Regions from separate parts of the Homo sapiens genome. Here all the other regions are linked to region 2. The links are contacts of gene promoters, found by promoter capture Hi-C in human tissues and cell types (Jung and others, 2019). All regions are on one chromosome and are shown on one strand. Each heading gives the region's core, a stretch centred on a gene start or on the middle of the fragment in contact. The rest is flanking DNA. Distances are from core to core; before and after follow the strand shown.

Region 1 (3,023 bases), core at 40-2,539, 380 kb after region 2:
GGAAAGGGACAGTTTGTGATTTAAGTAAGGTGCTCAGGGAAGGCCTCACGAATAAAGTGACATCGGAGCAGAGACCTGAAGGAAGTGGGGAATTTTAAAATCAGCTTAATATCTGGGAAAAGGGGCATTCCAGGAAGAGGGAAGAGTTAGTATAAAGGCTCTGAGGACAGGCATACAGGGCGTGTTGCAACCACACTGTTTTTTAACGAAGTCTCACACTGCTGCCCAGGCTAGAGAGCAATGGCGTGATCTCGGCTTACTGCAACCTCTGCCTCCCAGGTTCAAGCGATTCTACTGGCTCAGCCTCCCGAGTGGCTGGGATGACAGGCGCCCCCCACCACGCCAGGCTAATTTTTTGTATTTTTAATAGAGAAGGGGGTTTCACTATATTGGCCAGGCTAGTCTCGAACTCCTGACCTCGTGATCCCTCCGTCTAGGCCTCCCAAAGTGCTGGCATTACAGGTGTGAGCCACCGCGCCCAGCCGCAACCACACTTTCTTAGTGAGACCCACCCTGACAACCTCTTTAATTCTGGAACCTACCCCTGCCCCCATTGGTACTCTCTAATCCCACTTTGCTTTTCTCCACACAACTTTTCAAGATATAATTCCGTGTCGGCCGGGCGTGGTGGCTCATGCCTGTAATCCCAGCACTTTGGGAGGCCGAGGCCGGCGGATCACGAGGTCGGGAGATCAAGACCATCCTGGCTAACACGGTGAAACCCCGTCTCTACTAAAAATACAAAAAATTAGCCGGGCGTGGTGGCGGGCGCCTGTAGTCCCAGCTACACTCGGGAGGCTGAGGCAGGAGAATGGCGTGAACCCAGGAGGCGGAGACTGTAGTGAGCCGAGATCGCGCCACTGCACTCCAGCCTGGGCGACAGGGCAAGACTCCGTCTCAATTAAATAATAATAATAATAATAATAATAATAATAATAATAATAAATTCCCTGTCCTTTGTTTTTGTTCATCGATGTAGCCCAAGCTCCCAGGAGTGTGGGGCATACAGAAGGCGCTTGACAGCCACGTGTGGAGAAAAGGAGCCCGGGGCTGGGCAGAGAGCGAGGCCAAGGGAAGAAGAATACTCGGTCGCGTGGAGCCTTGGGGGCCCACTGGGAGGGCTCGGGCGCCACGCAGATCTGCGCGGAATGAGCCGCCAGAGGCCGCTGGCAGTCGCACAGAGAAGCCCATCGTTTCCTACCACCTGGGACTCGACGGACGTCTACGCGCGTGCGCAGCGGTCCCATCGAGGCACCCGCCTCATTGGCTGTGGCTGGCTCGCAAAAGTGGCATTGCGCATGCGCGCTTCCTTGCGCGAGCCGGGCTGTCGGGTGTGTTTTGCTCTCCAGCCTCCGTCGTCTCTGCAGCACTCCGGGTTCTCCTCCAGAGCGCTAGTCCCAGGAGCTCGGAATGTTCGTGGAACTTAATAACCTGCTTAACACCACCCCCGACAGGGCGGAGCAGGTAAGAGGTCCCGCTGGCCGGAAGGGGGCGGGACCTGGCAGGGCAGCGGAATACTGCATCCGGGAGGCGGTGCGCACGACCCCGGGGAATGGCGCGACGACCCGGCACGGGGTACCTGGGAGTTGTAGTCCGCAGAGGATCGACCCGGGGATTGGACTGGAGGCTTGGGCCCGCCGAAAGTGGGCTTCTGGGCCATCTCGCATATTCTCAACGGCTGTGCGTGTCCTTAAAAGTCCCTGGGAAGCGGCCGGGCGCGGTGGCTCACCCCTGTAATCCCAGCAGTTTGGGAGGCCGAGGCGGGTGCATCATCTAAGGTCAAGAGTTCGAGACAAGTCTGGCCAAGATGGTGAAACCCCCGTCTCTACGAAAAATACAAAAATTAGCCGGGCGTGGTGGCTCATGCCTGTAATCTCAGCTACTCGGGAGGCTGAGACAGGAGAATTGCTTGAACCCGGGAGGCGGAGGTTGCAGTGACCCGAGATCTCGCCACCGCACTCCAGCCTGGGCGACAGAGCGGGACTCCACCTCAAAAAAAAAAAAAAAAAGTACCTGGGAAGCATGGCCGACAGTGGGGTTGGGTTATATTCGCGGACGTGAACTGTGGCGCGCTGTGCATGTTCACTGGGGTGGGGGGTCCCAGGCGCTCAGAGGAGACTGCAGAATAGGCCCGAGAGGAGAGGGGAGTTCGTTTCGCCGCCGTCTTCATGGGCGAGCTTCCTAACCGCCACCTCGCCCCGGAGCAATTGGCACATTGTATTGAACGCTGCTGTTCTTCTTACTCTTCCTCCTTGTGATCTCTAATAGAACTGTTAGAAGCAGGACAGAGCCAAATTGGCTTGGACCAAGTCCGTCTTGGGCACCCCAGGCTGGCCTGTTCTCTCCACCCTCCTCACACTCCGGGGTACCTTGAAACCTTTCACATTTTAACGTAGGAGTAACCTCTTTCAGGAGTGTATCTTTTGGCTTATTTATTTATTTATTTATTTTTGATGGAGTCTCGCTCCCTCGCCTGGGCTGGAGTGCACTGGCGCGATCTCGGCTCCCTGCAACCTCACCTCCCGGGTTCAAGTGATTCTCCTTATTCAGCCTCCCAAGTAGCTGGGATTGCAGGCGTGCGCTACCACACCGGGCTAATTACTTGGCTGATTTTTTTTTGTATTTTTTGTTAGAGACGGGGTTTCACCATGTTGGCCAGGCTGGTCTGGAACTCCTGACCTCAGGTGATCCGCCCGCCTCTGCCTCCCAAAGTGCTGGGATTACAGGCGTGAGCCACCACGCCCAGCCTGGTTTATTCATAATCTTTGTCTTCCTAATGAAATGGTAAACTCCTCCAGGCAACCAGGATACTAAGTGTCTAAAGCCTTTTTATGACCCCATAGCGCCAAATTGTAGCTTTCAGTAGATCCTTGTGGATTTTAGTTGCCAGGCAGTTCTTGTCCAGATGACTCTGATTACCTTGCCAGTTACCACTGGCACTTCCAAAGTCAGCCTAGGGCCAGGTGAAAGAATGGAGTAATCAAGTGGGCACCAGGAAATGACAGCACTAGGGGTAACACTGA
Region 2 (2,844 bases), core at 53-2,552:
GCATTCACCCACCACCATTCCGCCAATCACTATGGTGTTCACCCAGGAACATTTGAATGCAAGCTGTCACATCAGAGACCATGATAAGGAGTTGGAGAAATTGAGTTCTACCGAGGAGGCTGTGCTCAACCAAGCCCCCCAGCAGAAAAAGGCAGTGCGCAGGGCCCTGTCTGAATGTTCTCACCTCTCAGTTCCCCCAGCTGTCAACCTTGCAGATAAGTACCCTGAACTCCCTGCCCGAGAAGAGCCTTCTTCTGGCCTGCTGCCTCCCCCTAGTAGCCCAATGCCTAGTCCTACACCTGGGAAACTGGGAGCTCCTGCTATGAAGCGCTCCATGACTGTGGGTGAGGAACAGACAGCTAGCTACAAATTGAGCCCTGGGAAACTGCCCATCTTGTCTACTAAAGAGATACCTCCTTTCATCTGTGAGGAACCAGTGGCCAAGAAGAGAGAAGAATTGGCTCACTTCAGCAACAGCAGCAGCAACTCTGGGAAGAAGGAACTCGGCACTGCTGGATTATATCTCCATAGTAAGCTGGAGCAGATTCCTGAAGGAAGCAGCAAGGAAAAAGGGCAGGAAGATTTTAGTGAAACTAGAATTGATTCATGCTCGCAGGTTTGCCAGCGAGGAGAGAAACAGCCAGGACAGACGGCTCTGGCAGGGAAGAAAGAAATTGAGGTCACTGCAACCCAGAGCACTCCATCGTTCCTGTTTGAAAAGCCCCCACGTGATGGTATGTTTCTAAATTTTGCCTCCATTGGGAACAAGCAGACAGCAAGGAAGGAACCAAAGTGACAGATTACCGGCAGAGCACTAAGCAGCTTTTTACAGCTGGGTTCTGTGACTGCCTGGGGAAAGCTTAATTCCCTTGTGTTGGAAGCTTGCTGGGAGTGAGGCAAGGAAGAGAACAAAGTGAATCTTGCAGGGTCAAGCTGAATGTCTTGCTAGCATGACAGATAATGTGAATTGAGTGTGCAAGTTTGGGGTGGAATGGGGTCAGAGAATGGTGGGTATAAAAACTAGACCCCCTTTCTTGACCTCATGTCACCCTGTCCAACCCATCCCCCATCCACCCAGCCCTCAGCTCCCTGTTGGTTTGAACCAGATGATTCCTGAGCTCTAAATCCTTCAATCCCAACTGATTGATTTCCTTGCTTGAAAATCTGTCACTTTATATAGATTCACAATGGGTTTATCAGCACTAACCTCCTCTCATTAAGTTGCACAATCTGGGTGGAAGCTCTGTTTTCTGTTTTTGCTTTGGAGAACGTTTTACTTTTGTTCAAACTGAAAAAGAGCCCTTTAAAGCTAGCTATTTAATATTCTTTCTGTGTTCTTCATGTTTGACCCAATCTTGCTTCTAGTTTTCTCTTTTTGTATGTGTTTTGAGAGGATTTGTGGGGAGAAAAAGAAGAAAGAGAAAGCAGGGAGAGAAGGAGAGACTTGCAACCTAATAAACAGCTAAATTTTGCGGTCTTTGTGACAGCCTTTTGTGTCTTTCTTCCTGGCCCTTTCTTTTCTTCCCCATCTCCCATCCCCCCACAGCTCTTATTGTGGTGGTCTAAAAAAGCTTGTGTTTCTCCGAGTCCAGTTTGAGCACAAAGGGCCATAATTCACAAACTTGTAAATGGGGATTTAAAACATGTGTTTTGCTTGTTTAAAAAAAAATAGTCTTGTTTCCTGGGACCTGTTTTCTCTAATATTTATTACTCTCAGTATATTTTTATGAAATTGTACTTTTTTTCTTTGAAAGTAAGAAATGGTATTTTCTAGGGGAGTGGTAAGTAGAAGACATACAGATGTTTTGGGTTTTTTTTTTTTATGGAGATAAAAAACATTTTTTGTTTTTTATGGAGATAAAAAACACGTTTTTTTATGGAGGCAAAGAAGCTTAATAGTTCCTCTTTGATTTCTTATGACTCCAGAATTACAAGCATTCAGGTGTCCCATGCTGTTGCTTCCTTCTAGCTGGGACAGAACTGTAAGCTCTTCCTGGACAGGACTTTGTCATCTTTTTCTTGATCCCCAGGTGCTTTGTTCAGTACCACATAACTTCTAGGTGATCATGAGTGAAGACTTTGTTTCAGAACAAGTTCTTTCTAATTCAGACTAACAGAAGTTTGTGCTAATAGAAAAAAATTTCAGATGACTGACAAATCCACCGATCCATTCACCCGATAAATGTTTAAATGCTGACTCTGCTAACCACTCTGTAGATAAAACTTTTATAGGAAGATTGTTTCATTTAACATGCCTACCATTTGCATTCACTATCTAGGCACTGGAAATTATCCTTATCCTCAAGCAACTTTTGATCCAGTTGGAGGACTGGGAGGCAGTGGGAGGGTTGTGAATTGTGGAAACATTTTGGAGGAAGTCACATTTGAGGTGGGCCTTGGAACCCTGGGATGCCAAATAATGCGGAGGGAAAGCCTTCCAGGCAAGGGAACTCATATTAAACAAAGATATGAAGCCTAGACAGCTCATGTTAGGTAAAAGAACAATGGAGGAATCTCAGGGCATCCAGTCACAGGAAATGTGGCCAGGCTGCTGCCATTGTGTATATCTCTCTTGGGACCTCTGCTTCTCCCTGCACATGTACTCCATTCTCTTCCCTTTAAAAATCTGTATTTCCTCTGTCATCTCTTTTTGCTTCCCTTGTAACTCTGCCCAGGACAGAATAGCATTGAGTTGCCATGGTTTGAGCTCTGTGGCCAGCTTTGTTACCACCATATATGTCAGGGTTCCGATGTTGCATGACTGTCATTTCCATGTCTTTGTCTATACTGACAATGAGTGAGTAATTATATCTTATTGGCTCAGCTTGGTCCAGTCAACTCTAT
Region 3 (2,743 bases), core at 24-2,523, 350 kb before region 2:
ACTTTGGGAGGCCGAGGCAGGTGGATCATCTGGGGTCAGGAGTTCAAGACCGGCCTGGCCAACATGATGAAACCCCGCCTCTACTAAAAATACAAAAAAATAGCCGGGCGTGGTGGCGTGTCCCTGTAATTCCAGCCGCTTGGTAGGCTGAGGCAGGAGAATCGCTGGAACCTGGGAGAAAGAGGTTGCAGTGAGCAGAGATCGCCCACTGCACTCCAGCCTGGGCTACAGAGCAAGACTCTGTCTCCAAAAAAAAAGTCTTTTGGGCCGGGTGGGGTGGCTAACACCTGTAATCCCAACATTGTGGGAGGCCAAGGTGGGTGGATTGCTTGAGGCCAGGAGTTCGAGACCAGCCTGGCAAATATGGCGAAATCCCCTCTCTACTAAAAATACAACAGCCGGGGTGGTGAGGCGCCGCCTGTAATCCCAGCTACTCCGGAAGCTGAGGCACGAGAATCACTTGAGCCTGGGAAAGCGGAGGCTGCAGTGAGCCTAGATCCCGCCACTGCACTCCGGACCGACTCAAAAAATATAAAAATATAATATACTCCGGGCGCGGTGGCTCACGCCTGTAATCCCAGCACTTTGGGAGGCCGAGGTGGGCGGATCACGAGGTCTGGAGTTCAAAACCAGCCTGGCCAACATGGTGAAATCCCCGTCTCTACTAAAAATACAAAAATTAGCCAGGCGTGGTGGAGGGCGCCTGTAATCCCAGCTGCTCGGCAGGCTGAGGCAGAGAACTGCTTGAACCCGGGAGACGGAGATTGCAGTGAACGGAGATCGCGCCACTGCACTCCAGCCTGGGCGACAGAGCGAGACTCCGTCTCAAAATAAATATGATATAATATAATAATACAAAATGCTGTTCTTCAGTTGCACTCCACACATCTCAAATGCTCAGCAGCCATTTATGGCCAATGACTGCCGGAGTGCACAAGTGCAGGATGCCCGGTGAAGAGTCGTGGAGTGAGCACCGTGGAGACTGTACGGGACACCTAGGGAGGAACCTGGCCCCCCAGGGGAGTAAGAGCCGCTGTAGGGGTAGTCAGCGCCTCACACAGCTCGCACCCCACGCGCATCCCTGGTGGATACGGCCGACGCCTGCGCGGCGCCTGCGGCTGGAGCACCGAATGGGGGAGGCGATCTCGCGGCCCCGACTCACCTTCCGCAGTCCAGCCCAGTAGCTGCTCCCGCGGGGCCCACATCTGCGCGCGCACGCACGCACGAAGCAAACGAGGTAGCAGCACCGTGTGTGAAACGGATTAGAATGCGCACCGCGGGCCACTGGCGGCGCCAGAAGAAAGAAGCAGGACTGGGTGAAGTGCGTCACCGCGCGGCGCGCAGCCTGCCGGGAAGCGTAGTTCTCGGGGCGAAATGCGGCTTGTGCAGGGCGAGAGAAAATGCTGAGGCGCACTTTGACCTTCTAGGTCCCCCTCGGCCGCAATATTTGGGGTTGTGCTTACCACAGGTACCCATAAGCAAAATATAGTGTTGTTTTCCATGGTTGTAAACATTATATAAATACACTTACAATGCCTGCTACTAGCTCTTTTGCGCAGTTCTATAATGACACGTGTTGACCTGTTCATTGTGTGTTCACTGCTGTGTGGTATCTAATGTAGAAATACACCAGGACTCCAATTGGACAGACTCATGCGCATCCATGGAGAGCTTCTCAAGGACAGTGGTTCGCAAACTTGTTGTTGTTAAAATCCTTTTACACTCTTAAAAATTACTGAGGACCCCAAAGAGCTTTTGAAACCGCCTTTGCAAAATTATACCTAAGGAAATTATGATGTTATAGGAGTTATTAAGAAATTATTTTAAGCAGATAGAGAAGGAAAGGGGTCCTTGGGAAGTTTTTGTTTCTTTTAAAGCAGCTCCAGAAAGGTTTCTTGTCTAGCAGGAAAGCCTGGGCTCCTAGAGCAGGATGGCAAGCTTTGATATGGAAATACAGGCCATTAGAAACTGGACGCACCCAAACATGGCGATTCCCGCCGTCCTTTTCTTTGCCCTGACATGTGCCTGGCAACATGGCCACCCCCCACATATTCCCACGTGTGTAGAACTTCATGGAGCCCTACATTTGCATATTAAAAAGCTAGGGTGGGAGGGCCAGGTTTTTGGCTGCCACATAAATGACACATCTGATCAAACTAATCCCCTGAGCCCTATGGAAACCAGACACCGCCTCCTCCAGCATCCTCAGATAAGCAGCCACTTTTCCGCACACGGCGCTTTCTCTTTGTTGGAATCCCCGCTCCCTCTGTCTCTGTATGGGGGAGCTGTTTTCGTCTTCCTTCCTTCTTTCTTGCCTATTAAACTTTTCGCTCCTTAAAACCACTCCACGTGTGTCTGTGTTATTAAGCCTATCAGAGACCAAGGACCCTGGTGTTCCTCCAGTCATCAGAGCCTTATCAATGACAGTAAAAGATATCAGATCTAACCCACCTCATCTTCCTTTCAACCTCTAAACTGTCTTTGTCCACTTCTGGGCATAGGCCAAAGTAGCCTTGGGAAGGAATTCAGTTTATAGCTTAAATAATAGCCCTTCCCAAGGGCTAAACTGTTCTTGTAAAATGAATGAAAGGCCACCAGCCACCAAATTAGGATGAGAAGGGCTGGAATTCTAAATATTACCAGCCATTATTCCAGAGGCCCTAAGACGCACAACTTCCCCAATTACTCTTTTGAAGCACAACTTCCCCAATTACTCTTTTTTTTTTTTTAGGGAAAAGAACAC

The links. Contacts are between HindIII fragments. The study calls those that stand out against the background at their distance.
Region 1: a contact is called between the fragment with the promoter of ELP6 here and a fragment that was not itself captured in region 2, in 2 of the 25 tissues and cell types used here (adrenal gland and lymphoblastoid cells).
Region 3: a contact is called between the fragment with the promoter of ZNF589 here and a fragment that was not itself captured in region 2, in 4 of the 25 tissues and cell types used here (adrenal gland, aorta, dorsolateral prefrontal cortex and 1 more).

The regions. Positions count from the first base shown.
Region 1 is chr3:47,511,978-47,515,000 of GRCh38, reverse strand. ELP6 (elongator acetyltransferase complex subunit 6) reads left to right here and starts at 1,289. Exons shown (of 7, transcript NM_001031703.3): 1 at 1,289-1,464. The coding sequence starts at 1,411. RefSeq lists enhancers at 1,325-1,434, 1,765-1,874. The HindIII fragment of the contact is 13,702 bases long and covers 1-3,023 here.
Region 2 is chr3:47,888,914-47,891,757 of GRCh38, reverse strand. The region is part of intron 10 of MAP4 (microtubule associated protein 4); the gene reads left to right. Among named protein-coding and RNA genes, the nearest start is that of MIR1226, 41 kb to the right of the region's middle. The HindIII fragment of the contact is 3,896 bases long and covers 1-2,844 here.
Region 3 is chr3:48,239,634-48,242,376 of GRCh38, reverse strand. It overlaps ZNF589 (zinc finger protein 589), which reads right to left and starts at 1,273. Exons shown (of 4, transcript NM_016089.3): 1 at 1,163-1,273. The coding sequence starts at 1,205. RefSeq lists enhancers at 1,104-1,398, 589-1,506, 1,824-2,118. The HindIII fragment of the contact is 6,944 bases long and covers 1-2,743 here.